2 separate regions of the Homo sapiens genome follow, and region 2 is linked to region 1. Evidence: promoter capture Hi-C in 16 types of primary human blood cells and fetal thymus (Javierre and others, 2016). All regions are on one chromosome and are shown on one strand. Each heading gives the region's core, a stretch centred on a gene start or on the middle of the fragment in contact. The rest is flanking DNA. Distances are from core to core; before and after follow the strand shown.

Region 1 (3,451 bases), core at 547-3,046:
CGGGAACTGGGACCAAGATGTAAGTCACAAGGAGGCAATTTACAGCAGAGAACTAGCTCTTCCTACAATAAAATGTGAGGTGGTGAGCTTCCTGCCACTGGAGGCACTGAACAAATGCTACGGGGAAAACAAACTGAGTATTTCCTGAAGATTCTGAATAGAAGGCTGTGTTTGGAGTTTGATGCTTTGAAAGCTCAAGAAATGATTCTCAGACACAGCGGAGTTTGGGGACATCAAGGGCTCTGAGTGCATTTTAAAGCAGCCCAGGAGAGAGACAAAGCAAGACCATAATGAAACACCCCACCCAGTCTTAGAGTTTGAGCTACAGCACGGTGATCATGAGCAGACTCCAAACCCAAATCCTGATACTGTCACCTGCTAGCTGTGTAACCCTAGAAAAGTTACAAAACCTCTTTGGGCCTCAGTTTCCTCAATAAAATATAATAAAAAACTAGTACCCGCCTCACCCGTGAAGCTTAAATGAGCTAGCATATGTCAAGTGCTTAGAATAGGGGCTGGTTCACAGTAAGTATGAACCATTATTATTTGCAGACAAGGAAACTAAGAGGTGATAAGTAGTTTGACCCATGTTCCAAAGTCAGTTTTAATCTTGGGAATAAAACCTAAAAATTTCTTTCTCCTCCATCAGAATTCCTTCTAGCTCAAACTAAGTATCCTACATTCAATTCTATCTTCTCTGCCTTCATAGACCCTTCCATTTACTTCTCTTGAATATCTTGTTCCCAAAGTGTTTTCAAGGCAGGTCTGTTACCAAGCCACTCCATCAGCAGCACCTAGCACTGTGCCTCCCGCAGCAAGGCAGGCAGGATGGATGGACGGATGCAGGCATGCATGGGTAGGTGGATGAAGGGCAGATGAAGAACTATCGAGAAAGGAATCGCGGTGTCAGGGGTAAAGCCCTGGCCTGCGAGAGCCGGGCTCGGATTTCAGTGCCCTCACAGCTAGCCATATGGCCTTGGACAAGTTACTGAACCCCTCCGTGCCTAGGTTTCCAGAATGTAGAGGGCCACTTCCACTCAAGTGGCTGGAGAAGAAGGTAAGCGCCCCGGACGGACGCTATTGCAGAGTCGCCCGGGGATTCCTCTCTCCACCTGTGCTTGAGCTCCTCCCGCTTCTACGCTAGGGACCAGGTGGGAGAGATACACGGATTCCCAGAAAAATGGCTCTCTCAGGTGGGAGTCAAGGGTTACGAGAGGAGAGGTAGGGGAAGCAATGAACTCCTCCACACGATGTGTTGGGAGAGAGGAAAGAGGGATTCAAGTGGGAATTTTCCACTCAACAAACATTCCACCATCATTTGAGAAAAAGGCGCTGGGATGGTGAATTTCAAACAGTCTGAGAAATGGGCGACTCGGCACTGTGCGGCCTGTAAGGAATGAATCATTTAGTTTTCACCCACCAGGTAGGCAGGCCGGGGGCGAGGACCCTCCGAGCGCCGTCCGAGCGCAGGTGGTAGCCCAGCCAAGCAAACGCTGGGCAGAGGCGGCACCGAGGAGGGGAACGGGCTGCTGCACTCCCGGTCGCGTCCAGCCGGGATGGGCTGCGAAGTTGTCGGATTCTTTCCCGCACAGCACGGGGCTCGCCCGTCGGAAAAGCCACCGAGGGCGGCGCAGCGGCAGGGCGCGAGCAGAGCGGGGACGGGCGGGTCGGGGGTACTCACGCCGCGGGCGAAGGGCTCCACGAGCCGGGCCGAGTCCTCGGCGGCGCGTGGGGCGCGGGTGCGGGCTCCGGGGCGGACGTGCAGAGGCGGCCCGGGCCGGGGCTATGAATCAGCTGCGGGGCAAGCGCGGAGGGGCGGGAGTTACTGGAAAACCGCGGGGGAGGGCAGAGGGGTGAGGTCTTTTGCAATTTCCCGTCTTGCTGCGCACTCTTGGCACTCCTGGGACCCACAGGAATTCCCTCCCTTCAGTCCCGGGGGGAGGCGGCCGCGATCCTGGGGGAGGCGCAGCCTCACAACCCGGACTTTGCGGGCGGGCGGGCACTGGTGAGAAGAGGAAGTGGGAGAGGCCTGGGAAGGAAACTTGGAAACCGAAAACTCGGCGGCCGAGGCTCCGTGCCCCGCGCGCAGCGCTGCTCCTGCCCCGGCCAAGGACGCACGGGCCAGCCGGCGGAACCAGAGGTAAGCCGAGTGACCGATGAGGCCTGGGGCTGTGTATCCCACAGGGGCACTTGTCATCCCAACCCAGAGGCCAAACCCGTGAGATCCCCGTCCGAAAATCTTCAGGCAAGAGAAGTCCTTTAACTAAATTTTGGCCGTGTTTCCATTTGGCGTCCAGAGCAACGAAAACGTGTTTGAACCGAATCAAACGGTCCCCATTTTTCCCCTACTCGCGTTCTATCCAGAAACGCCCTGTCCGACAAAGTTTCTTCGGCTACAACAGTCCCGAAACCTTTATTTCCCAATGCTACGACATGCTACACATGGTTTACTTTTCCCCTTAAAAATGCCATCCAATCTTCAACCTTTTTTTTTTTTTTTTTTTGAGACGGCATCTCACTGTGTCACCCAGGCTGGAGTGCAGTGGCGCGATCTCGGCTCACTGTAAGCTCCGCCTCCCGGGTTCACACCATTCTCCTGCCTCAGCCTCCCTAGTAGCTGGGACTACAGACGACCGCCACCACGCCTGGCTAATTTTTCTATGTTTAGTAGAGACGGGGTTTCACCGTGTTAGCCAGGATGGTCTCGATCTCCTGACCTCGTGATCCGCCCGCCTCAGCCTCCCAAAGTGCTGGGATTACAGGCGTCAGCCACTGCGCCCGGCCAAAAATGCCATCCAATCTTTACCGTGTCTGGGCCTTTGAAAGGTGCATTTCACCTCTCTTAGAGGATAACAGGAGCCTTCCGAGGCAGCCTCGGACCGGGAGCTCCCATAGCCTCGCCTGTCTGGATGCCTGACAAATCAGCAGGCAAGGGGCCTTGCTCCAGATCAGCTGAGCCTAGTTTGGTTTGAGTTTGGGGACCCTGGAAAGTATCACAAAAGCAAGGTTGTAGGAGGGGGGTGGGGGAGGGAACCAAGAGTGATCAACAAGTATCGACCATAAACATATCTTAGAATCCTATATTGAATTGACTGGATGACTCAAAATAATGTCAGAATTATTTTAAAATGTTACTTTTGTGTTTGTTCACATATCTGGCTCCTCCCCAATGTCATCCCAAGGAAAGCTGAGAGTCCTTTTGTTTTTTTATTTTTCCTAAAACAAAGGCCTAAAGGCCCTAATACACTTAATACCTAATGGGGCCACAAAGACCATGATGCATAGTAAATATTTGATGATAATAAAATGTATTTTTGTCTCAATAAATGTATGGTCCTTTGCCACACCTCTCATTACTTGAAGAGTTTTAAAGAGTCCATTAGTTTAGCCATCTGCATGGTTATGGAAACTGCCAAGCCCAAGAGTTGGAAAGTCTTTATGATTTTATATT
Region 2 (3,562 bases), core at 681-3,180, 400 kb after region 1:
TGGGAATAGACTAGTTCAGAAATTCATTCTTATTAGTGTGATCAGTGTTTCATCTTGCACAGAGAAAAGAGGAAGGCTGAGGTCCTTGAATCAAGGGTGAGATAGGAGGAAACATAATTTAACATTGCTACTAGCATAATGTCATTGGAAAAGTTTCTTTGTCCATTCTCTAGTCACTTGAGCCATCCCTCTGTCTGTCTCACACACCTGGGTCTGTGTCTGCAGTGTCCTCAATCGTGAACAGTGGAGGGAACTATTATCTAGGCTTCCCAGAGCCTGAGCTCGTCAGGAAGAGACCAAGTTTGCATTTCCCATGCAGGGCCTCAGAACAGTGAGGGAAGAGCGAGGCCCCCCAGGCCAGGTTCAGCACAATCTAGCACTGACCCATTCCCTAGAGACCTGCTTTGCCCAGATTTTCGCTCAGGTTCCTTCCCTCTCCCATTTGCCTTGGGTATATTGATTGGTTACAAGCCAATCAAGAGGTTCTCATTTCTCTTGCCAGTGATTGGTTTAGGGGCAGGCATGTGGCAGCACAGAAGAGACACAATCATATCCCTTTTGTCCAATGAGATACAATTCTGGGAAGAATTCCTTCTCTTTTAAAAAGAGTCATATGAGAAAAAAAGTCTTTTGGACTTCCACTGGATGTAGTCAGAGTCATCTTATGTGCAGCTTATGGGCAGCTGGGGAGTGGCCTCTGGAGAAGACGCTGAGGACAGCAAGCAAGAAATAGGGATGAGATTGGAATATTTGAGGGTACAGCTGCTTCTCTTAATTAATCAACCCAAGATCCAGTGTAAGTCTGGACTCCTTGTGATATGAAATAGTAAATATCCCTCATGGGTAAGGCATTTTAAGCTGAACTTTCTGTTACTTGGCACCAAAGATATCTGACTGAAATAGACCCTGAACTTGACTTTTACCTGCAGCCTCACACACATGCATTTATACTTTCATATACATACACACACACACACACACATGCATGCGCACACACACATACACACACACTATGGCCCTTGAGGTAGCTGTGGTTTTGGGCCTCATGTCTCCTGCTCTCATCAAGCCCCTCTACTCCCCCAAACCACCTAGTGGTCTCTCACTAACCCCCAGAGACTGAAGGCTTGGGCCCCTTTCACGCTGTCACTGCTTTCTAGGGACTGAATGACCTTCCATCTTTGGAGAGAAAGGGCTGAAGAAGGAGGACGGTCTCTCTTGGCTGGGAATCCATTTTACCTAAGTCCCCATGCCAAGACAACGTAGATTAATACAACCTGGGATTAGAGAAGTGAAGCAGTGTCTGCCTGGTGTGTGTTGGGCGTTACCAGGGACATCCAATGCCCTAGGAGAATTCCTCCCAACCACATTTTGTTCCCTGAAAAGCCACCAAACTCCACCCTAAGAACTGGATGCCTTTCGCTTAAAGATTTGCCCTTGTGTGTTAAGATGCAGTCAATCTGAAGAGGAAGGAAAATCCCAGAATGATTGTGTGGGGAGCAGAAAGGGGAATAGCACACTAGAAACCACAAAGAACTGGGGAAGGGAAAGAAAGAGATAAGGGGCAAACTGAAAGTGCCAAAGACAAGCTTGACCGAGTTGAGGATTTTGCCATGTCAAAGGCTATTCCAAACCAAGAGCGAGGACTCCAGGCCAGGGCTGGGACTTCTGCCACCAGGGGTGAGATGCCATGGCTGTGACTTGGGCATTTCCCTGTATCCACATGAAGAGAGCTGAGAAGCCTCTCACTGAACTGGCCAGAGCCTGAAGAGGACAAGAGACCTTTGCTGATGAAGACGCAGGGTAGGTATGGACTCAGCAGGGAATGGGCTTGGATCTGTCTGTCCTTCTGCTGCTGGCCCAGGTCAGAGCTGCACACTCTGGCCACGGCACAGCACGGAACTGCCCTGCTCACAGAATCATAGTCATCACTCAGGCTTCAGGAACATCACATTCTCACTGTTTCTCGAAGCCTGAATACTGGAAACTCTGGGACCAGTCGTGTCTCTCTCTCCAGGCCCTTTGACCAGAAAGATACTGGATCTTTTGTAACAGGGTTATCTGAAAGGTCAATTTCTCAAGTTTAGTTTGTTTTTTGTTTTATTTTGCTCTAGTTTCTATGTTTATTTCTTGTTGTGTGTGTTTTTCCCCTGAGGCCATGGCTGAATGGTCTTCTTTGAGAATTATCTTCTGGCATGAAATATAAGAAAAAGCCCTGAGAAAGATATAGAGAAATTTACCCCCAGAAAGCTGAGGAAGGTGCCTGTTGAAGCTTATTACCTCTTCAAGATATCTGGGTTGTCATACGTCAGGTAACTGCGGCCGATAAACTGCGGGATCTCAATGGCTTCTATGATCGCTGGGACAGAACAGAAAAAGGAGGTTACATAGTATGTGGTTCTCTTGACCCCTGCACTCACACACATGGCAGGAAAACACCCAGCTCCTGGAAATAGGATGTTTAACAATTCATCAGCCCCTTCCCTTCGGCTGCACGCATATTTGGCCAGGTTCACAGTTGCCCAACCCCATGGCCTGGGGTTGGCTTCTCCCCCATTTTTCCCTCCTGGGGAAGTATTGTCCCTGCCTCTGGCCTCAGCGCTGCTGAGAAGGCCTCACAATGTGCTGAAACTTGAACTGTTCCCAATTATTCTTGGAAGCCAAAGAGCAGCTCTTGGGCCATGTGGGGAGCAGCTGGGGATAACCCCAGATGTTCTCCTAGGGAGGCAGAGAAAACAAATCCCTAAATAAGGCCCACTAGGATTCTTGAAAGCTAATTTGCTGCAGAACCTTTTAAGCTAGGACTTCGAGAGACTCTAAAGCACTATGAATGAGGCTTGGACTCCCGCATTTCTGATCACTTTCCAGTGTATTTCACAAGATCTTTTTTTTTTTTTTTTTTTGAAACAAAGTTTCGCTCTGGTTGCCCATGCTGGAGTGAAATGGCGCGATCTTGGCTCACTGCAACTTCCACCTCCTGAGTTCAAGCAATCCTCCTGCATCAGCCTCTCAAGTAGCTGGGATTACAGGCACCTGCCACCAAGCCTGGCTAATTTTTGTATTTTTAGTAGAGATGGGGTTTCACCACATTGGCCAGGCTGGTCTCGAACTCCTGACCTTAGGTGATCCACCCGCCTCGGCCTCCTAAAGTGCTGGGAATTACAGGCATGAGCCACTGTGCCTGGTCTATTTCACAAGATCTTCACTACAATCTCATGAAGTAGCAGGTAGTATGGGGGAAGGGAAGGGTTGGTTATTCTCATTTTATGGAAGAAGAAAGTGAGGAGTAGAAAGCATGGAGGATTTGCCTGAGATCACGTAGTTAAGAGAGCACTAGGCCTTGAAACTGACCAGCTCTTCTTAATTCTGGCTTCTGGCCCCCTCTCAACTTTCCAATATTTTAGAAATGCATTTTCTTCCTCCCAAACTCTCATCACTTTGTTTTCCTGAGGAATTACCCTTTTACACATAGTTAGCAAAAGAAGAGTTTAAGTAGCTGTGTGTGATGTCATGAACGGGGGATGAGGCTAGGGGATTTCTGCTGGAGAAATAACAGCAATATCTC

Evidence for each region. Contacts are between HindIII fragments. The CHiCAGO score rates a contact against its expected background, and 5 or more counts as called.
Region 2: a contact is called between a fragment that was not itself captured here and the fragment with the promoter of OSMR in region 1, in 1 of 17 cell types (M1 macrophages). The highest score is 5.3, in M1 macrophages.

The regions. Positions count from the first base shown.
Region 1 is chr5:38,844,357-38,847,807 of GRCh38, reverse strand. It overlaps OSMR (oncostatin M receptor), which reads right to left and starts at 1,796. Exons shown (of 18, transcript NM_003999.3): 1 at 1,421-1,796. OSMR-DT (OSMR divergent transcript) reads left to right here and starts at 1,979. Exons shown (of 4, transcript NR_109951.1): 1 at 1,979-2,140. The HindIII fragment of the contact is 5,506 bases long and covers 478-3,451 here.
Region 2 is chr5:38,447,095-38,450,656 of GRCh38, reverse strand. EGFLAM (EGF like, fibronectin type III and laminin G domains) reads right to left here. Exons shown (of 22, transcript NM_152403.4): 18 at 2,278-2,356. The region is part of intron 1 of EGFLAM-AS5 (EGFLAM antisense RNA 5); the gene reads left to right. Among named protein-coding and RNA genes, the nearest start is that of EGFLAM-AS5, 19 kb to the left of the region's middle. The HindIII fragment of the contact is 683 bases long and covers 1,589-2,271 here.